Linked DNA regions of Homo sapiens: all the other regions are linked to region 2. Evidence: promoter capture Hi-C in 16 types of primary human blood cells and fetal thymus (Javierre and others, 2016). All regions are on one chromosome and are shown on one strand. The core of a region is centred on a gene start or on the middle of the fragment in contact, and the rest is flanking DNA. Distances in the headings are between cores, read along the strand shown. Region 1 holds the start of TNFSF8 (TNF superfamily member 8). Region 2 holds the start of MRPL50 (mitochondrial ribosomal protein L50). Region 3 holds the start of IDNK (IDNK gluconokinase). Region 4 overlaps LOC105376335 (serine/arginine repetitive matrix protein 1-like). Region 5 has its middle 8.0 kb from the start of NAA35. Region 6 holds the start of UBQLN1 (ubiquilin 1). Region 7 overlaps HNRNPK (heterogeneous nuclear ribonucleoprotein K).

The links. Contacts are between HindIII fragments. The CHiCAGO score rates a contact against its expected background, and 5 or more counts as called.
Region 1: the fragment with the promoter of TNFSF8 here is called in contact with the fragment with the promoter of MRPL50 in region 2 in 1 of 17 cell types (fetal thymus); the score reaches 5.5 in fetal thymus.
Region 3: the fragment with the promoter of IDNK here is called in contact with the fragment with the promoter of MRPL50 in region 2 in 4 of 17 cell types (total CD4 T cells, fetal thymus, naive CD8 T cells and 1 more); the score reaches 10.5 in total CD4 T cells.
Region 4: a contact is called between a fragment that was not itself captured here and the fragment with the promoter of MRPL50 in region 2, in 2 of 17 cell types (naive CD8 T cells and activated CD4 T cells). The highest score is 6.6, in naive CD8 T cells.
Region 5: a contact is called between a fragment that was not itself captured here and the fragment with the promoter of MRPL50 in region 2, in 1 of 17 cell types (non-activated CD4 T cells). The highest score is 8.7, in non-activated CD4 T cells.
Region 6: a contact is called between the fragment with the promoter of UBQLN1 here and the fragment with the promoter of MRPL50 in region 2, in 3 of 17 cell types (non-activated CD4 T cells, total B cells and total CD4 T cells). The highest score is 11.0, in non-activated CD4 T cells.
Region 7: a contact is called between a fragment that was not itself captured here and the fragment with the promoter of MRPL50 in region 2, in 2 of 17 cell types (non-activated CD4 T cells and activated CD4 T cells). The highest score is 9.0, in non-activated CD4 T cells.

What each region holds. Positions count from the first base shown.
Region 1 is chr9:114,928,976-114,931,966 of GRCh38, forward strand. TNFSF8 (TNF superfamily member 8) reads right to left here and starts at 1,616. Exons shown (of 4, transcript NM_001244.4): 1 at 1,134-1,616. The coding sequence starts at 1,328. RefSeq lists an enhancer at 710-1,269. The HindIII fragment of the contact is 2,687 bases long and covers 438-2,991 here.
Region 2 is chr9:101,397,319-101,400,506 of GRCh38, forward strand. MRPL50 (mitochondrial ribosomal protein L50) reads right to left here and starts at 1,300. Exons shown (of 2, transcript NM_019051.3): 1 at 1,183-1,300. The coding sequence starts at 1,274. It overlaps ZNF189 (zinc finger protein 189), which reads left to right and starts at 1,533. Exons shown (of 3, transcript NM_003452.4): 1 at 1,533-1,871; 2 at 2,566-2,692. The coding sequence starts at 1,839. RefSeq lists enhancers at 413-942, 943-1,471, 1,004-1,533. The HindIII fragment of the contact is 1,128 bases long and covers 1,175-2,302 here.
Region 3 is chr9:83,621,313-83,624,414 of GRCh38, forward strand. IDNK (IDNK gluconokinase) reads left to right here and starts at 1,831. Exons shown (of 5, transcript NM_001001551.4): 1 at 1,831-1,909. The coding sequence starts at 1,860. RefSeq lists a silencer at 1,526-2,055 and enhancers at 2,236-2,365, 2,386-2,435. The HindIII fragment of the contact is 10,566 bases long and covers 450-3,102 here.
Region 4 is chr9:83,923,154-83,926,008 of GRCh38, forward strand. It overlaps LOC105376335 (serine/arginine repetitive matrix protein 1-like), which reads left to right. Exons shown (of 3, transcript XM_011519284.2): 3 at 1,513-1,732. The coding sequence ends at 1,649. Among named protein-coding and RNA genes, the nearest start is that of KIF27, 3.1 kb to the left of the region's middle. The HindIII fragment of the contact is 505 bases long and covers 1,345-1,849 here.
Region 5 is chr9:85,931,675-85,934,552 of GRCh38, forward strand. No RefSeq gene overlaps it. Among named protein-coding and RNA genes, the nearest start is that of NAA35, 8.0 kb to the right of the region's middle. The HindIII fragment of the contact is 3,789 bases long and covers 1-2,878 here.
Region 6 is chr9:83,706,328-83,709,273 of GRCh38, forward strand. UBQLN1 (ubiquilin 1) reads right to left here and starts at 1,631. Exons shown (of 11, transcript NM_013438.5): 1 at 1,173-1,631. The coding sequence starts at 1,352. UBQLN1-AS1 (UBQLN1 antisense RNA 1) reads left to right here and starts at 1,508. Exons shown (of 2, transcript NR_135839.1): 1 at 1,508-1,985. RefSeq lists enhancers at 654-1,544, 1,312-1,381, 1,545-2,433. The HindIII fragment of the contact is 7,028 bases long and covers 1-2,946 here.
Region 7 is chr9:83,976,079-83,979,124 of GRCh38, forward strand. HNRNPK (heterogeneous nuclear ribonucleoprotein K) reads right to left here. Exons shown (of 17, transcript NM_031263.4): 2 at 2,295-2,374; 3 at 2,117-2,201; 4 at 1,611-1,708; 5 at 917-973. The coding sequence starts at 2,174. Among named protein-coding and RNA genes, the nearest start is that of HNRNPK, 2.6 kb to the right of the region's middle. The HindIII fragment of the contact is 3,362 bases long and covers 1-3,046 here.

The DNA of each region.
Region 1 (2,991 bases), core at 366-2,865, about 14 Mb after region 2:
CACGAAAAGTAGGCACTATGAAGTAAGAAACAGAAATATTCTCACTTTGGCAGGTCATGTGGGTGGGTGCAGCTCTTAAATTACCCATTAACAACTTCATCAAAAAATTCATGAGCAATATATGCTATTACTACAGCATTTTCTATATAATATATACTGGTAGATTCTCTGTAAACACCAATTTTCTAAAATATGAAGAAGCTTCCTCTTTCTCCTCCTCTTCTGTTTTCAGAAACAAATCTTACCATTTACTTCAAAGTAAATCTCCGAAGACAGTCTGACCCTGTACAGTGTGTACCCAACGATTGCTTAGTATTGTGAGGAACATCAGAGAGAACAGGTGCTAAAAACCTTTCAACTTTCTGCTTCTATGTGCTGTTTCTTTTTTTTTTTTTTTTGTGACGCCCTAACTTCTTCAAAGTTGTGGCTTAAGAGGAAGCTTTCGATTTGTCTTGCTGGCTTTAACACCAAAATGTCCAAAGCTCTAAGAAGCCATGGTCTTCTCTTTCGCCTCCTTTCCTTCTAGACCTTGGCCTCTGAAACTTAGCTCCTTGTATAAAACAAAAGCAAAAACAAAACTCTTGGCAATGGGTGAGGCCTCAGAAACCTCCAGGACACTCAGACTTAGGATATAGAACCTCAGAATCCAGTCTGAAGTCCTTGAAGACATGATAACAACTTGTGCAAATGTGTTATCAGGTTTCTCTATTGCTTCCTTCCTTGATATGGGTCTCTGGCTCATTAAGATTTAAATCTTAACTTTAAAAGGCCAATAGCTCCCCTCCACTGTTTTGCTCAGACAGATCTGCAAAGTTTTAAGATGATGGTCTAACAATATTTTTCTCAACAAGCCAAATTATTTTAGAGAGTTAAGTTCCTCTTTCTTTTCTCCCTTTCTCATATATATATATATATATAATATATACTGTATAATATAATATATATTATGTAACATAAGTGTATTACGTTATACAGTATATACTATAGTATATATATATATATAGAGAGAGAGAGTTTATTTATTTAATTTTATTTTGTGCTCTTAACCAACAAACGAATATCATTTGTTCCCAGGGCTCTTTCTCTCGGGAAAACAACAAGAAAAGGAAAGGGAGGAAGAGGAGTCCACTTACCGTCCTCTGAACGACCAACACCATAATAGTGGCCACCGTGAAGACAAGGCACAGAGCCAGAGTGGCTGTGGTCAAATAGAAATAGCTGCGGCTCGTGGTCCCCAGGTGGCTGGCCACGGAGCCCGCCGGCACATGCATGGCTGTGTCTCCAGGAGGGGCCATTCCGTTGAGTGCTTGCTGCAGCCCTGGGTCCATTCTTTATATAGTCTTCCCCACATCACACCTTATCTCTCTTCATCTGATTCAGTTCTGGGCCCATCTCTGTTCCAAGAAGGATTCTCCCCCTGAATCCTGAATCATGTGACTTGGAAAAAAACCTTCACCTGCTGCCTGGTGGAGAAACTCTTCTCTGGGGGCGTGAGGCGAGAGGCGGCAGCAAGGGTGGGGGAGAGGTTCATTTTTCATTGCCAGGGATTAAGTTGTGTGCAGAGAAACTAGCTACAGAGAAGGTGGCTGATGTCAGAGGGCGCGTAGGAAAATGACGGTTCCCCGACTGTGTGTGTGTATGTGTGTGTGTGTGTGTGTGTGTGTGCATGCGTGCGCACACACAAAGCAACTTCTGTTTCGTTTAGACTCTGCCACAAAACGCCTTCCTGTTCAAGAAGCTGCACCTTCTTTCAGCGAGGCCTGTGGCTCAGAAGACCTCCCCAGATAATGAGTCCTTGCTGGGTCTCAGGGAGGCCGGATCCCTCGGACTGCAGTGTAATAACTCCAAAGGGTTCGGTTTGATAGGCTACTGCTGAAAAAGGGACATGCTGCAGGTTCCCTGGGGGAAAAAGGGCACACAAATGGAGATATTTCTCCAAAGGGGGACTGGCTCATGGCAGTATGAAATTTGGGGTTCAAAGATACTGTCAGAAAGCAGGAATCTGGAAATATCAATCTTTTGAACAAACACTCCTGCAGAAGTTTTGGGATCTGTTAAACTGGCAGATGAACCTGGACCTGCCGTAAAACTCATGAAGAGGGGAAGGAATTGGCAGTGAGATGGTGTGGTGTGGAATATGGGGGCTGTGTGTGTTCTGCGTGGTGTACTATGTAGTGTGTGTGTATTTGTGGTATGGGGGTATGTGTAGGTGTTGTGTGTTCTCTATGGTATATGTATGCAGTGTGTGTGTGGTGTGCATTTGTGATCTGCAATGCATGCCGAGTGTGGTGCGTATGTAAGTGTTGTGTGTGGTGTGTATGTATGTGTTGTGTGTGGTGTGTTGTGTCTTGTGTATGTATGTGTTGTGTGTGTATGTGACTACTATAATTGAACCTCTACTGTCTCAGGCACAGCGCTAGGAGTTACATGTGGCTTCATTCCACTTCCACCTCCACCCTCCGAGGCAGGCAATGTTTATTTTTTACAGATGGGAAAACTGAGGCTCAGGGAGGATGAAAACTATCTCAACCTAAGTCGCAAGTGTCGATCACTGAAAGAACTTGGGTGCACTTTGCAGCCTGCCTGGCTGAAAGCTCGTGCTAAGTCATTCAATCTTCACTGCACCTGAAAGCTAAAACCTGAAGTGTGGTCTCAGCCCTTTCCCTTCTTAGCCTTGGGCCATCATACAAGTCTTTATGGCTTTCTCTGTTCCCAATCTGCATTACAGTCATCAGGAAGACCAAGCGAGATGATGTCAGAGTACTCCATGAATAAAAATAGATTTGGGGATGGTGTTGGACAATTCCTGTTAAACATCCCAAGCTGTCTACTGGGCTAAGTCTGGAATTTAGATACAATAGACAGATTACCTGGGGGACAGAGTCAGATCACATCTGTGGTTACTAATGATCTCCATTTCAAAATACCGTTTAAAATGTTAATCACTGCATAGCTGCTGCCTCCAGATGTGGGCCTTTGAAAGCTCCATTT
Region 2 (3,188 bases), core at 50-2,549:
TATGTGAAGAGATGAATATGATAATTATCTTGACTAATAATCAACATCAAGTTGTATATCTTAAATATATAAAATTTTTAAAATAGTAAAGAAAATATAATCATCATTCTCAGTAATCTATTTCCTCTAGTTTTCTTCATAATTTACCACTTTCTGAAATTACATTACACATTTGTTCATTTCTTCCTCCATTAGAACATATGCCCTACGAGAACAAAAATTTGGTCTGTTTTAGTAACCACTGTATTCTTACAACACCTAAGATATAGCCTGGCATATAGTAAACAGCCTAAAAAATATTTGTTGAGTGAATGAATAAAACAAACTTGGAAGAGATTTGAGAGATAATAACAAATATTGACCAAAGAAGAGGGAAAGCTAATATCTGAACTGATGAAAAAGATCTTTCCTAATTGTAGTGGTTTTTGTTTTAAACCTAAGAGAGCATACATTGCTCCCTAGGGTTCCTACCATACGTTTTGATTTCCTAAACACTATCTAAGTCAAATTAGATTTACCTTCAAACAATTACACATGGTGCAGCCGTGCAGCAGAAAAAGCAGTAGATGGGGAGTTAGGAGACATATGTTCTAGATCCAGCTTTGCAATTAACTTGCTTTGTGACTTTGGGAAAATCACTTCCCTCCTGTGGGCCTGTTTCCTCATATGTTGGAGTACCTCGAGGATGAGAATGGATTTTGTTTTTCCTGCTGTATCCTAGGCGCTTAGAGTAATGCTGGCCCTAAGAAATCTGTTGAATGACTGAATGAATGAACAAACAAAAGGAGGAGGCAGTACTTCATTACTGAACCTTGCTTGTGAAGAAACACAGCCGGCAAATGAGTTTAGTTTACCAAGCGCTTTCATGTGTTTGCAGACAACACACTCGGTGTCTCGCACACGAGGTTAATCCTGCTTGCTTAATAAATAAATGAATGAGTGAAGTGAAAAGGAAAGGGGGTGGTATTTCCGTTATAAAATGAGAAAACTAAGGCCGAGAGTGGAAGAGACTGGGTCCCACCACTCAATGAGTGCTTCTCAACTCGGGACCCTAACCGGACCTCCTTGTCCTTGCTCTGATCAGGCGCGGGACCACGATGGCGTAACACTCTATTTTGAATTCGTCCCTAATCCTCCTTAACTTTCCTTGAACATGACCCACCGTCCACCATAAAGCTTTACCTGAATCGAGACCAAAATTCTCTACATGGTGTCCCTGAGACTGTCCACATGAAGACTCTTCTGGTAATGCCCGACACAGATCGCGCCGCCATCTTCGATGAGATCCACGGGCCTGAGCGCAGCCTTCAGCCAGCAGTGACGCGCCCAGACCAGCCAATCGGATACAATCCCAGTGGCAAGAGCTTTCTTTTTCCTGTAGGCTCCCTCGCCCTTTGCACGCTGGGAAATGTAGTCCAGTAGCTGTTGCTGGCGGCGTCTGGACCGCGGCGCTCTTTCCGAGCATGACGGGAGTTGTAGTTGAGGGGGCCTCGGGAAGAATCTGGGTGACGCCTTCTGGTCCGGGGGCGGGCGGTCATAGCGTTACTTGGCTGCAAGGAGGAGGAACTGGCAGCGGGGAGGAGGCTCTAGCGAGGCCTGAAAGGCTGCGTAACCAGGCAGGAGTAGGGGTTGGGGTTCGGGGTTGGGGGACAGCCAGGGATCGCGTCTGATATGCTGTTGGGGTCGTGACCGTCTGGGGGCCGAGGCAGGCACTGGCCAGACCCAGCCAGGGATCCTCGTATTCGTCGAGCCTAATTTCCAGCAGCCGGGTAGGCCTCACCAGAGGCTCCTTTCCGTGAGGCCGCCCCCAATTCCTGCCCCTATTCTCTGCCTGGGAGATGGCTTCCCCGAGCCCCCCGCCGGAGTCGAAGGTAAGTAAGCACCCCCCCGGGGATCCCGGTTGTCTCGCCGCTACCCCAGCTAGGCCGCACCACTGCTTTCTCCCCCAGGCCCCCCACCAACCTCCTGACCGCCTCTTTAGGGCCAGCGCCTTGCAAGGAACTCCCCACTAGTGCATTGGGGTGCGGTTCGCGAACAAACTGCCCACTGGCTCCCTTTTTTTTTTTCTTTTTCTAGAGAGACTTGATAAATCGGCCTGAGAAAATAAGTAATGCTCCAGACTAGCTCTCTCATTTGTGAGTTCTCCAGGTGAAGCACCATTTTTGACCTTCCCTTGTGTCTTCTGTTCCTGGCACAGTGCCTGGACCCCAAGGTACACGCTTAGAGAACCTCAAGGAATTGAATTGAATAGAGTCACAAGCCAGTGCAAATGGAAAATTGAAGTAGGCAATGAGGTGAGGGAAGCTTGGAGAGGCCTTGGGGCAGTTTACTAAAATTAAACTCTCAGGGCATAATAAATCAGAAAAGCCTTATCCGTAGGTCCTTTCTAGTCTGAGATGTCTGTCAGTTACAGTTCGTTCCCAGAATTGGGCAACATATGGAACTTTCAGTTATCATGTTCCTCCTAGCCTACTTGGCCACAATAAGTGATTGCCTCTGTCACTTTTAGTGGTAGAATTGTCCTTGAGACAACAGGAACTGACTACAGAAATCATACTATTTCAGGGGTTGCTGACATTTGAGGATGTGGCTGTGTTTTTTACCCAGGAGGAGTGGGATTATCTGGACCCAGCTCAGAGAAGCCTGTATAAAGATGTCATGATGGAGAATTATGGAAACCTGGTCTCACTGGGTAAGAATCTGCTGTTTCTCTAATTAAAATATCTAAGAAGGTAGAGAGAAATCAGACTAACAGAACATTTGGACGGAAACCAGTACCAAAACTGCTTTGTTCCAAAGTTCTGATTCAAACCTTTTAGCCATTAATTGTTTCCATAACTCTCATCCCTAGCTTCCTTGAGGTGACCAAACTGCAAGCCTTTCGGGCATCCTGTCTTCATAATCTCATTCCCATATTGTTCTGTACTTTCCGTCCTGGCTCATCCTCCCACAGCTTTCCTCCCACCCCTTTTCACTCTGCGTTCTGGAACCCCTGTTCGTCTTCACATAATGTTCCTTCCCTCCTGGCCTTAACTGAAACCTGGCACTATCCCAAGGACAACGTTTCTCTGGCAGTTTTTCAAGTGGGGGCTGCTTATTCTCCCACATCCTCCTCCTTCCCCATCCTTTGTCTCAATGTTGGAAGGGGGAAGTTATTGTTCACTCAGCTTTTAAATGCTGTCCCCAAA
Region 3 (3,102 bases), core at 581-3,080, about 18 Mb before region 2:
AGGCTACAGTCCTGTCAGACACTTCTTTCTATATGGTCTATTCTCTCTGTCTCTCTCCTTCCATTCTCTTCCCTTCCCATATAAAGGCTCCCTCTCATCAGCCCCTTTCTATTTAAGAGTGAAAACACTTCTCGGTTACTCAGATGTGGACTCTGCCCCTAGTTGCTTTTTCTGACCCTACCCACACCTGTGCTAATAGTCCCTTTGTTAAATCCTGTTCACCTGCCCCAATTTGAGCATGCTGTTTCCTGCCACCACCCTGAGCAGCACAGCAAGTTTAAGATCCTTGGACATGTCTGGGGAAAGAAATCCAAGGAGAAGAATCAGATTTTCTGCTAATCATTCTGATTTGAACATTGAAAGAAATATGAGCTTTTTTTTTTCATACTGAGCTAGCGAAGCAGGGCACGAGTTAAGAGTATTTGCATACACATCTATTCCTCTTATCAAGCTTGAGAATGCCTAGAGGGTAATCTTTTAAATGAATATTAATATGATATTAACCAGCACATGGTAGATGTTCAAGAAATGTGTATTGACCATAACTGAATTGTAAGACCTCTCTCCAAGCCTCAATTTCTTCACCTGTACAGCCCCCATCCAGATTGAAATCTCACCTACTCGGGCTAAGTATATGAAAAACAAAGGCAGTGCAGGGGTAATTGAACTATTCATTAGATAAATGCTTTTATGTCACTTTTATTGTTTTCTAGGACACAGAGTAATACCTACCTTGGTTAACAAAAGACCAAAGGAGGTGATGCCAAATGCGGTTAGAAGTGCTTTTAATCACTTTGGGAGGCCGAGGCGGGTGGATCATGAGGTCAGGAGATCGAGACCATCCTGGCTAACAAGGTGAAACCCCGTCTCTACTAAAAATACAAAAAAAATTAGCCGGGCGCGGTGGCGGGCGCCTGTAGTCCCAGCTACTCGGGAGGCTGAGGCAGGAGAATGGCGTGAACCCGGGAAGCGGAGCTTGCAGTGAGCCGAGATTGCGCCACTGCAGTCCGCAGTCCCACCTGGGCGACAGAGCGAGACTCCGTCTCAAAAAAAAAAAGAAGTGCTTTTAATCAAATAGTTCAAACGACACATAATTAACATTGTTTTAAAGCAAATGGACACTTTAAAGTGGTGCTCCTTCCTCTTAAAGCCCCAACCAGTGCTGGATTTAACAGCAGAGCCATACAGCCAAGACATATGCTGCTACGGTCAACACTCAACCCTAAGTTTGACACCAAAAGATGGCCGCCATTTATTATTGTGACAAAAGGCCAGATTACAAAACGCTGTGTACGGCCTGATCCCAGTTTTACAAAATACTCATACCCATCTATCTACGACGGGGCGCGGGGAAAGGGGAGTCGTTTTAGGAAGTGCTGCTTATTGCTGCCTGGTGTGGGAAATTATGAGTCTTATTTTCTGTTTATTCTTTTTACAAGAACATTTTTATAAATGAATGAATGAATGCTTTCCATGGGTGGATGAGGATCCGGCCTGCCAGGGTGAGGATCCTCTGGAACCAAGAGGGGCCGGGGCAGTAGAACGACAGGTGGCGGGGCTTTGGGCGGCTCCCTCCAGCCCAGGGAGACGCGAGTGCCAGGCCGGGCGCGCGCTTCACTTCCGGGAAGAGGAAAGAGGGAGGGGAGGGGAGAGGAAAAGAAGGGGCAGGAGAGAGAGGCCGGGAGGTTGGGAAAGGGAGGAGGAAAGCATGGAAAAGGGGCGCGGGAAAACGGGGAGGGCGCAGAGGGGCACGGCCCTCACTGCCCCGGCCGGGGCGAGAGCGGCTCCGCCCCTCGAGCGCCGGGTAGGCCGGGGCCGGCGGGGCCCGGAAGGCGACGGGAAGGAGCCGAGCTTGGGTTATGGCGGCGCCGGGCGCGCTGCTGGTGATGGGCGTGAGCGGCTCGGGGAAGTAGGTCCGGGAGAGGGCGGGGGGCGCCCGGGACAAGTGTTGCGGGCGCGGCGGAGGCCGGACGCGTCGCCGTCCCTGCCGGTGGACTGGGGTCTTGGGGACCCCCCACCCTTCCCTTTGCAGATGAAGAAACCGAGGCCCGCGGCTGCCGCGCCCTCTCCCCGCCCTCCAGCCTGCTCGCGGGGCGCCCATCCTGGGACCGCATCCGAGCTCCGGGTTCCCGCTCTAAGACGGGGAGGCTGCGGCGACCGCAGGCTCAGGGAGGAAGCCGCTCCTGAACAGGCGGCTGCGGGGCCGCGCAGGTGGAGGCCTAGCGAGCGGCGCGGGGCTAGGTTTCGGGGCGCCTTGTCGGGGCCAGGCGGGAGGGCGCACGGCCTCTAGCGAGAGGACGCAAACCACGGCCCAGGCTCTCACAGACCTTTGGCCATCTGGACACACAGCGGCCTCCTCCTATGAGGCCCTGGACTTCTCCGATTCAATTTTGGAAAGTGAATCGTTTTCCCCTTCCTTTCATCAGCTTAACCTGGAAGGAGACAGCGTTAATATGGAGGGTGGCTCCTGAGGGTTTGGAAAGAAAGAAGAGAATTGTGGAAACCACAGAGGTAGCCCAGTGTGCTAACCTGGAGACTGAGGAGTTAACATTTGGCTTCCTGTTTAAACCAAAGTCTAACTGTGCCCTTTATCAGAAAAGACAGCTGCTGTACCATTCGACCACAGGCAGCAAAGGACAGAACTTGATCAGCTAAAACATCATAACCTTCAAGGGCCTATAGGACCCTTCTAGAATTTTCTGAATCAGGAACGGCCCATGTTGTGGCCTGTGTAGTCAGGTGTATATTAAAGATTTACTCCAGGTAGATGGGTTTTGCTTTCCAAAATTATTGTAGGGTTCTCAGCCACAAAGATAAAAAGAAATCTTGAACTGCAATTGAAATAAAACATGGAGCCCCCAAATCCCTAGCTGCCATATGATTTGAATCAGTTGGAGAATGTAAAATCATTGCCATGGTGTGATGTAACAGGAGTGAAGAGCCCTAGGTCTTGGTTCTGTTGCTGTCTGGCTGTGTGAGCCTGGGCAGTTCATGTACCCCCTCTGAGTCTTGAATCAGATGAGGGAGGCCTAATCCCTATGATGTATAGCTTGTGATATTCATGTACTCAGTAATTATTGAGCTCAATCCTTACTCTATGTC
Region 4 (2,855 bases), core at 347-2,846, about 17 Mb before region 2:
AAGCATCTTCAAAAACCCTTCCTTCTCTCATGAAATATAGGAATGAAGGTGGGGGAAAAAAGCTGACTATTTTATTTATAGTTTTTATTTTTTTTTCTTTTAACTGAATTATTTAAAATTTTAAAAATTCAGTCTGGGCACAGTGGCTCACACCTGTAATCTCAGCACTTTGGGAGGCTGAACTGGGAGGGTCACTTGAGCCCAGGAGTTTGAGACCAGCCTGGGCAACATAATGAGACCCCCCATCCCTACAAAAAATCAAAACTTAGCCAGGTGTGGCTGAGTATGCCTGCAGTTCCAGTTACTCTGGAGGTGGAGGTGAGAGAATGGTTTGAGCCTGGGAGGTCAAGGCTGCAGTGAGCTGTTGTTGCACCATGGCATTGCAGCCTGGGTGACAGAATGAGACTCTACCTCAAAAAAATAATAAATAATACATAATTTTTAAAATTCTAAGATTTCATTTATACACATACCTGTGTATTGAGTCATGATGTCAAGGGAATGTCTGATAGTGGCTCAGTATCAATCAAATGCGAAAGCCAGTGTCCTGGGCTTGCTTTTCAGATTGGGGTGATGGATTATTTCCTAGTCTTCCAAGGTTCCCCTCATGATTGGTGGAGATTGTGGTTGCCCAATTTGACTATAGGGCCAAGTTGCATTTTTAGAACTCTTTGAAAACAAACAAAAACTCACATCATGACTGTGAATTGGTAAGTCAGACTGGTCTGCTGACAAAACTTCAATAATTAATAGTACGTAACAATTTAAGTCTAGGAATACCCAGAAGTCTCAACAGAAGTTCTCAAGAGGCCACACAATTGCAGAGAGGAGGTCAGCAAATGCCCAACAGCATTAGAATGGGGCATTTTCCATTGTCCCCAAATTGATGTCTTGAGTCCAGAGTTAGAGAAAAGGAGTTACTTAAGTTCCCCACACTGTGAAGTGAATGCCAGTCATTGCCAACCCCTCCTCCCTAGGATTTATAGCAGGACTAAGCTAATTCCATTCAAATTCCAATCCTATCTCTTTTTTAAGTATCTGTAAGAAAGACTCGGCAGTGGAGTCAAGGGGTCTTGGGCCTTGTGGGTTGGAGAGTAAGAGGCCTCCCACCTAAGTCAAAGGAGGCTCTAAGAGTGACGGGCAAACCCTGTGTGATGTGCTAGAAGAGGAAACCTGGCCTTCTGGTGGGAGCAACTAGGGGAAGAAGTGAGCTGATCTTCTTCTCAAGAATGGAGCGAAGCAACTGAGATGTTGCTGTAGTAGAGCAGTCTGTGTTCCTGCAGTTTAGCAGGGGGAGAAGCTGTGATTTGCTCATGGTCCAGGGGATCCTTTGGAGGGTACCCAAGCTTGAGCCCCATGAAGATTGTCTTGAGGACTGTCTCCTGCAGATAAGTCCCCATCAGTAAGAGGCAGTGGGAGGAGCTGGGCTTGGGATTAGCAGAAGTAATTGAGCCAGTGCTGGATCTTCTTAAGGGAACTAGGTCTTCTCCTTAAGGGAACTGTATCTTTCAGGTCCACTGAAGAACTCTGCATATGTCCCATGGGAGACCAGCTTTGGGCTGCTTGTCCTACAGAGAAAAACATCCATGCCCAGTCCACTTTACCAGAAAAGCAGTAACAAACAGAAGATTACAGCTAGACCAAATTAAATAAAGAAATATGTGCCCTTTTCGCCTAAATCATCTTCCCTCACCCATATTTTGAGAAAAGCTGGATCCAGGAAAGAAAGGAAGTATTAAAGGAAGTATTAAGGAAACCACAGATCATACCTCTTCTCCCACTTTAAATTCTTTTAATGTTGCTATAATGTTTGATGAATTCCCTTAATTTCTCTGGCGGGGAGAAAAGAAGCTTTATACTTTAAAAATGGGGTTTCTTTAAAAATGGGGGTGGGCGGTGGTGCACGCCTGTAATCCCAGCACTTTGGGAGGCTGAGGCGGGCGGATCATGAGGTCAGGAGTTCGAGACCAGCCTGGCCAACATAGTGAAACCCCGTCTCTGCTAAAAATACAAAAATTAGCCGGGCATGGTGGCATGGCCCTGTAGTCCCAGCTACTCAGGAGGCTGAGGTGGGAGAATCGCTTGAACCCAGGAGGCGGAGATTGCAGTGACCCGAGACCATGCCATTGCACTCCAGCCTGGGTGACAGAGTGAGACTCCGTCTGAGAAAAAAAAAGGGGGAGGGGTGGTTTCTGTGCCATCATTTTGCCTTTGGCTCCTTAACTTAGTGCAGAGAATGTTAGCTTTCCTAAGGAAACATACTGCTTGGGTCCTGTCAACTGGTGCCAGGTGGATTTGCTTGGCCCTATGGTCAAATTGGGCAACCACAATCTCCACCAATCATGAGGGGAACCTTGGAAGACTAGGAAATAATCCATCACCCCAATCTGAAAAGCAAGCCCAGGACACTGGCTTTCGAATTTGATTGATACTGAGCCACTATCAGAAATTCCCTTGACATCATGACTCAATACACAGGTATGTGTATAAATGAAAACAAGGCCAGGCACAGTGGCTCATGCCTGTAATCCCAGCACTTTGGGAGGCCAAGGCAGGTGGATCACTTGAGGTCAGGAGTTCGAGACCAGCCTGGCCAACATGGTGAAACCCCTCTCTACTAAAAATACAAAAATTAGCCGGGTGTGGTGGTGCGTGCCTGTAGTCCCAGCTACTCGGGAGGCTGAGGCAGAAGAATCACTTGAAACCGGGAGGCAGAGGTTGCAGTGAGCCAAAATCATGCCACTGCACTCCAGCCTGGGAAACAGAGCGAGAGTCCGTCTCAAAAAAAAATAAATAAAATAATAAAAATAAAAATACAAAAATTAGCTGGGTGTGGTGGCACGAGCCTGTAATCC
Region 5 (2,878 bases), core at 88-2,587, about 15 Mb before region 2:
CAACATACCTGTTGCAATGCTTCATGTTACTCGTATTTCTGGGACAATGGTAATACAGCAGAGTAATGATTATTTTCTCCTTCAATGAGATAAAGCCAATAGAAACTGAAATTTGATTATTATTTTCTCTTTTAGAAAACTTCTTTCTTTTTTTGAGACAGGGTCTTGCTTTGTGCCCCAGGCTAGGGTGTGATCATAGCTCACTGCTGCCTAGAATTCCTGGGCTCAAGGATCCTCTTGCCTCAGCCTCCTGAGTAGCTGGGACTATAGGCCACACCACCATGCCCAGCTAACTTTTAAAATTTGTAGAGACAGGATCTCACTAGGTTGCTCAGGCTGGTCTTGAATTCCTGGGCTCAGTCAATCCCCCCACCTCAGCCTCCCAAAGTGCTGGGATTATAGGTGTGAGCTACTGTGCCCAGTTTTGAAAACTCTTATTATGAAAACATTAAATAAGTACAAAAGTAGAAAGAGTAGTAAAATGAACTCTTATATTCATCACCATCTTCCACAATTGTCAGCAAATCTTATTCCCTCTATCCACTCATCCCCAGCCCCACTGAATGATTCTGAGGCAAATATCAAACATCATATATTTTCACTCATAAGTATTCCAGTATGGCTCTCCGAAAGACACACATTTTTTAAAAAGGTTACTACAATGTCATTATCCCACCTGAAAATTTTAATGTCTTTTTCTATTTTTTTTTTTTTTTTTTGAGACAGAGTCTCACTCTGTCACCCAGGCTGGAGTGCAGTGGTGCGATCTTGGCTCACTGCAACCTCTGCCCTCCGAGTTCAAGCGATGTCCTGCCTCAGCCTCCTGAGTAGCTGGGATTACAGGTGCCTGCTACCGCTCCCGGCTAATTTTTTGTATTTTTAGTAGAGATGGGGTTTCACCATCTTGGCCAGGCTGGTCTTGAACTCTTGACCTCATGATCCACCCACCTCGGCTTCCCAAAGTGTTGGGATTACAGGCGTGAGCCACTGCGCCTGGCCAATTTTAATTTCTTAATATCATCAAATATCCGGTCAGTGTTCACATTTATTCAATGGCTTCAAATTGTTTACAGTTTATTTCAAATAGGACCTAAAGTTTATCTAATTCATAAGTCTTTTCAATATTTATTCTTTCTACTTTTAAATTTATATTTATTTATTTATTTATGAGGCAGGGTTTCACTGTCGCCTAGGCTGGAGTGCAGTGGTGCAATCTCAGCTCACTGCAGCCTTGACCTCCTGTGCTCAGGTGATCCTCTGGCCTCAGCCTCCCAAGTAGCAGGGACTATAGGCACATGCCACCACGCCTGGATAATTATTTTTGTGGGTTTTTTTTTTTTTGTTTGTTTGTTTGTAGAGACAGGGTTTTCCCAGGTTGCCCAGGCTGGTCTCGAACTCCTGGGCTCAAGCAATCCTCCCCGCCTCAGCCTCCCAAAGTGCTGGGATTACAGGCGTGAGCCAACTGCACCCAGCCTAAGTTTATTAATTTTACATTGTATCTGCAATTGGTTGATATTTGTCTTATGTTCATTTCCCTTTTGAAAGAAACTTAAGAATTTCAATATCTATGCATTAGACAATTCATTGATGAAATGTAAAAAAATCTATAAATGTAGTAGTTATTTTTTTAGTAAAAAATTCACATATTGATAGACCCCAGGAAGCTGCTTGAAAATTACTAATGTAAAAGTTATTTGAATAGGAATTTTAAAAGGAAAACATATATTAAATATTATGTTATGTATGTATATTATTAGGATAATAATTGGGAGTTAACGTCTCTCTCAGATTCAGTGAACCACACTCTTCTGGTTTTTCTTCTGCTGTTTACTCTGAGCCCTTTATTAGGTCCTCTTACTCTACCTGACCTCTAAATGTTGGGGTTCCTCAGTAGGCCATTTGAAGCTCACTTCTTTTGCATCATTTTTTTTAATGAAATCACTGTAATACCCCTAGTTGTAAATGATGTCTTTATTGGCAAAATGGACCAAAAACAGTTTCACATAGCAAATACCAAAACAAAGTAAAAAGGGCAAATGACACACTGGCTTACAAAAACTGCAGCTTCAATCAAGAGTTAATATATACAGCTTCTTAAAAACAGAAAAGAAAATAATCAGCCAGGTGTGGTGGCTCACGCCTGTAATCCCAGCACTTTGGGAGGCTGAGGCAGGCAGATCACGAGGTCAGGAGATCGAGACCATCCTGGCTAACACGGTGAAACCCCGTATCTACTAAAAATACAAAAAAATTAGCTGGGCGTGGTGGCAGGCACCTGTAGTCCCAGCTATTCGGGAGGCTGAGGCAGGAGAATGGCGTGAACCCGGGAGGTGGAGCTGGCAGTGAGCCGAGATCGTGCCACTGCACACCAGCCTGGGCGACACAGCGAGACTCCATCTCAAAAAAAAAAACAAACAAAAAAACCCCAAAAAAGTAGCCAGGTGTGGTGGTGCGTGCCTGTAATCCCAGCTATTTGGGAGGCTGAGGCAGGAGAATCGCTTGAACCTGGGAGGCGGAGGTTGCAGTGAGCCAAGATCGCACCACTACACTCCAGCCTGGGCAACAAGAGCGAAACTCTGTCTCCAAAATAATAATAATAATAATAATAATAATAATAATAATAATAATAATCAATGATCCTATAGAAAAATGGGTTAGAGACAGGCACAGACTGATCATAGAAAAAGATGCAAATAGTCATTAAAAAGATAGATTCTCCACCCCACTCATGATAAAAGAATGCGAATTACAGCTATACTGAACATTTTTATCACTTAACAGCTTGGCAAAATTCCAAAAGTTTGACCATATACTTTATTGATAAAGGCTATGGGAAAGCAAGCACTCTCTCATACACAGCTTGTGGAAATAAAAATCA
Region 6 (2,946 bases), core at 381-2,880, about 18 Mb before region 2:
ACTTTCCGCATGCTTGAAAATACAAAAATGGTAAGGAAAATTTTTACAAGCACTGGGAGACAAAAACAAAAGTGATAATTCTGTTGGTGGTAAAAGTTTCTCTCATTTGATGTTACACACCTCACTGCTTCACAAAATACACTACCTTTGGAACTCGTTAAACCAATACCCCAATCACCTACTGTCCCTGGGGAAACTGATAGGTACATTTCAGGAATTGTTGTTTCCTGTCACCAACTGTTCACGTTGTTTGCGATCTTCAGAGATTAAGTCAGTAATTATGGAAAACACGACGTATTCAACAATACACTAAAATTATTTGTTAAATTCCACCAAGAATCTTAATTAACTGCAAGATTTGTATTCCTGAACCAAGTTTAAGTAATATTCTGCATTCACTCCGATTTTCTTTTATTTGATTGCAACCGCTAATATCAACATCGCTATCGCCCCTCTAAAATCAAACAAAAACCTACCCAATGATTGGCATCTAAGAGATGATAAACATACTAAAAGGGAAAGAGCAAGTCATCAGTGAAAGAAAGTCATTCACTTTTCTCCTTAAACCTAGTACTATCACTATTACTTAAGATGGAGCTAAAAACAGTTTCTACGTCATAATTTTTTTTTAAAGGTTGCAAGGTGGGAAAGATTTCAGGAGTTAAAATGCAGAACTAAATATACACATGCACCTCACCCCAAAACCCACCTTAACAAGCAGGCACGTAAAACAACGAGGATCCCACCCACCCCTTTTTAATTCATGAAACAAAACCGCAGCCTGAGCTAAAGCGAACCCTCGCCCCCGCCCAGCCTCCACCCCGCCCGGAGGCTGGCGGTGGGTCCCTTTCCTTTGTGAGGAGTTGGAGGGGAGGCGACGGAGGGCGGGGAACTGGGGGAGGAGGCTGAGGGTCGGCGGATACCAGAGAAGGAAGGCTCCGAGAAAAGCGGCATCAGCCCGTCCCACAAACAGGCCGCGCCGCCACGCCACAAACCATTGCGGTGTCCCAAGGCGCAAACCCACGAACTTGGGTGTGATCTAATTTGGGACGACGCCCGGGAGAATGGCCGAGGACGACCCCTCTCCCAGGCCCTTCCAAAAGGTCTCCTGGGGCGGCGGGCGGAGGTCCTGCCGCCACCCCCATCCCGGCCCGAGCCCCAGGCGGCCTCACCTGCTGGACGGAGCTATTCTCGGGCACGGCGAATTCCTCCTTTTCCTTCGGGGTCTTCACGGTGACTTTCATGATTTTGGGCTCCGCGGAGGCAGCGGCCGCGGGGGCGCCAGCACCTTCGGCTCCGGCGGCGCTATCCTGGGAGCCCGGAGGACCGCCGCTTTCACCACTCTCGGCCATGGCTGTGGCGGCGGCGGCGGCGGTGACTCAGGCAAGCAGGAGGGAGCAGGCGAGCAAGGAGGAGCCAGCAGACACCAGAGCCGGCAGGCCTGGACAGCGAAGAATGCAGAGCACGCCGCCTCAGTAGCAACGGGCGCAGGGCCACCGTAGCGGGTGTGGGGCCCCGGAGCTCGGTGCAGGCTCTGGCGCAGGCCCGGGTCAGGCGCTCGGCAGCCGCCGTGTGTTCAGGCGCCGCTCGCTCACACCGACATCCGCAGCAGCCACCGCTTCCTCCTCCCTGCCCCTTCCCCCACGTCCCTTCGCCGGCGCCGCGCGGAGCACGCCGGGTAACGCGCCTGGCGGCGTCGCCGAGTCATCCCCGGCTGGCGCGACTTTGAGCTCAGCCTGCGTGCCTTTTCCTTTCCCGCTCCATTGCCCAAAGTGCAGGCGAAGCCAGTGTGAAGGACTAAAAGCAAAATGGGGCGGGGTAGGTCAGTTCATGGTTTTTTTCCACTCCTTTCACCAAAAACTAAATCGCAGTTTCCAGTTAAGCGCTGTAACGGCGCACCGAGATGACGTCACGGTTAGCGAAATTACTAGAAAGGGACCAGTGGGCCCTGCGGCCGCGGCTGCGCCTGCGCGCTTGCTGTCCAGGTAGTCTCCCCACCTTACCTCATGCCCAGCTGGGCCGTGTTCACCCCTCCGCGCTGTCACAATCGCCTTGCCCTCCCTTGCCTCTCTGTCTACTCTGCGTTCCCCGCTGGGAGGAGGGTCTGGTGATAAAATAGCGGCGAGGTATTTTGTTATTTTAATATGCTTAGCGTTTGATATTTGGAGGGGTCGTATTGCCCTATGCGGGGGAGTTGGGGTAAGTTAATGGTGGAAAGGCCTCAGCACAACGAACAGAAAATGGAGTGAACGCCCGTGACTGCCCTGCGCAATCCTGCGGAGTCATTGCTTCATGGCCAGAGCTTATTTACCGCCCTCGGGTTAGCCCGGTTTGGTCAGACGATCAGTCAGGCAACCTGTATTGACAGTGGCCTCTGCTGCTACGATGACAGCTGTGCGCGAGCGCCCCCAGATTATCTGTGTGTAGGGCGGAACAGGGTGCCCGAGGAGTGTCCACCCAAATGGGACAATTTAATATAGTTGAGGTGTTCGCCTTATATTCTATCAAATTAAGTTACTGGTCAATTTCAGGCTTTAAGTGGCATTAAGGATAGTTCCAAAATTATTTTCAGTGTAATACAGAGAGAAATTATCTCTGAGAATCCTAATTTGAAATGACGTCATTGGCTTTTAAAGATGACTTGCAAGGAATGTACAAACCAGCCCATTATTAATCAATGTTGCACAATTTAAATCCTGACAGCCCACTATGACCCAAATCCGCAAAGATACATTCTGCCTTTCTGCTCCTAAGCCGTCCAACCCTGTTCTGAGAATAAATACTGTTACATAAACACGACTTTTTAGCAGAGCTCTATGGAATCTGGGTCTAAGAGAATCCTGAGGGTATCGATTTCAGTATAGACATCATTTGATATCACCTAAATTTCTGGCAGCATGGCTCAATAACAAGGCCTTCTGCTTAATGAAGGATGACTACTTGGTT
Region 7 (3,046 bases), core at 153-2,652, about 17 Mb before region 2:
CACCACCAAAAACCCTAACTAATAAGACTGGTTTGGTTTTCTGGAGGTTTTGAAATGCATTCCTAGATCCTAACAGGCAAGTTTGTAAAATTTTAAACAAATTTTCAAGTTCAGTTTACAGTAATCAAGAGGAACATACAAAGATCTGCGACCAAGAGAGAAATGAAATACTGTCAAATAAGTACTCGACACAAAGTTATTTGCCTCATTTTTAGCAAGAAAAACATTAAGAAATGTGTACACTATGAGAAAAAAAATTTAGAAATTTTGGTGTAGCCAAGTCCTATAAATGTGCTCACTTCTGGCACTGCCAACATTTAATGTGTCTAATCACAAGAGTCAACCCACTGTAAAATGAAGACTCAAACAAATCATAGGCATTGACGAACAGTTTCCCAATTATAAGATTAAGTGCCTACTCTATTCTTTACCCATATTTAAATCATGCAACCTCAACATTAAATTCTTTGTGCTCCATGTGCAAGCTGTTAAAGAACAGATGGACATTTTTCTTCCCAAAGAAAACAAAAAAATTTTTCTGGATTTAACCAGCCACCTGCAATGGTTTTCAGTAATACTGTAATTGATTCACACACAGGAAATGGTGCAATCAAGGATTTTTACACTTTGTCGCTATTTCTAATTAAGATGTTATCTTGCTTGATGAAGTGAATAATTTGGTGGACTCTTATTAAAATGTGAAGAGGTTTGAAAGAAACCACCCCCCCACCCTGCTCAATCTGGGCTTTTGTTAAAACAGGAATGGATAACTTCGAAATCAATTCTGTAATAATAAATTATTACAAATGTCTTTGTAGCTAAACTATGAAATGATTTCTAGGATGTAAATCTTTAAATTTCTATAGACATATAAACTGAAGCTGCTCGTGTAGTAGTTTAAACTCTTAATACTTACGTCTGTACGGAGAGCCTTAATATTCTTGCCTCCTTTTCCAATCACTGCCCCAGCATTCTGGAGAAGATACAAAGACAAAAAATTATTTTGCCTTTCCCTAAAATTAATAGCTACCTACGCTCTTAGATTTTGCTAAAAAATCCTCTAACCTGTTTGTTATAAGAATAAAAATCTATTTGGGGTTGTAAAAACGACCAGGCCAAAACCAAACCAAAAATCAAAATATAATTCTAAGTGCTGTGAGGACTAGATAGTTTGGAGTACTCAATGTCAGAAATAACACCAAGTATAAAATAAAACTAAGCACAGATTTTATAGCACCCTTTGGTAAAATAAGTCAATTAATTTAGTATTAGTAGGTACCTTCATATTGTGACCTGTGATCAAACAATAAACTGCCAACCAAGCAGTTTCCTAAGGAGTCCACACATAATTAAGATTTAATCTATTAACACTTTAAGAATCACACTCTCCTCCTAGTTTGACCTGTAGTGGCGGTTCACTACAGCAAGGGCTTTAATCTTAACTGTTAGTGGAATAAGAAAACCACCAGAGCCTTCAAGTCTGTTTAGAAAGAACCAAATGTTTTATATTCTTCAATCTGTAAAACTTTGACTTTCTAGAAAGCCAAACCAGACCTTAATTTCTACCTGAGTATGAACCACCTTCAAATTTTCAAGAATAAAATTTATACCTTGCTCTGAAGCAGAATGCGTAATTCAACCATCTCATCAGTGTTTCTAGATCTTTTAAATGCTTGTTCCTCTTCCATATCTTCTGCAGGGCGTTTACCTAAAAATTAACAGTTCACATTTCAAAGAAAGCAGCGAAGTCTCCAAAGTAACTCCATTCTGTTTCAAGAGACTTGTTGCTAATCTTAGGCATGTTTTGAAAAGACCAAAGGCATTGCTACAGACTTGAACGTTATGCTTCCATCTAGTAAAATGCACCAAACACAAAATACTGCCACAAAATACTTCAAAGGATTTGAAATCCCAAAATGCAAGAAAAATTCTTTATATGCAAATCAGTTACTTCTACTTCATAAATAAAAGCTAAGATGTAACTACTGATAATCGCAGAATTACATAAACAGTAATACCAAAAATTCACCACACACTCCTAAGGCAATAATTAACAGAAAAAGGCAATTTATTAACAGGATAAAAAAATACTGTTAAAACTAAAATTTCTTCTCACCAAATTCACCATTGGTTTCAGTGTTAGGGAAGGTTTCTTCTGGCTGTTCAGTTTCCATATTCTTTTATTAAACGGGCACACCAATCTGTGGAAAAATAAAGCAGCTAGTACATTTGGCTTATTGGAAAGCAAGCTGTAAAAAAAAAAAAAAAAAAAAGACATTGCTTCTAGAACGTACCAGTTATTATATATCCTTGCAGAGCAGAACTGAAGCGTTCTGGGTCGGACCAACAACTGACACCCCAGTGCTGCAGTAGCCTATAAGAACCAACACAAATCAGTTTTGCTTTTGTTTATTCTTATTACTGAATATTTGTTTCCGATCACAGTGAATACTGATTTGAACCCAAAAAACCAGCTGTTTCTAAAACTTGATTCTTCATTTTAGGGTTTCACAATTCAAATGACTGCCTAAAAAATACAAAATTCAAGGGAGCCTGGTTTCATTTTTTGCTAAGTTAGAACAATAACTTTTAGCCACTGGATTAAGTCCCACCACAGCAATGAATTGTTTTATACGGCACATTCCCAAAACCCTGAAAAGATAAATGTCATCCACAAAGCATACATTTATGAAAAGTTACAATGCATCTTATTCACTGGGAAAACTAATTTTATATTAAAACTTCCAATTGCTTTCCTATTTCTTTCGACTCATGCTTGAAGCGATCTTATGTGACATCTCTAAAGTTTACAAATACAACGGCAATTGCGAACACATCCAACAACCAGAACAATCTACCGGAGGGATAAATCCAAAAATCTAATATAGGACCAGACCCAAACTACCACAATACCAGTCTATTATTAATCAGCGAAACAAATGGAGCCCTTGAAAACTAACAGTCACTAGCGGATTATTTTAAATTAGGCTTAAGGGAGTACAACACAACAATCATGCCTGTAACACGAAAACTAAAGTGTCTACGT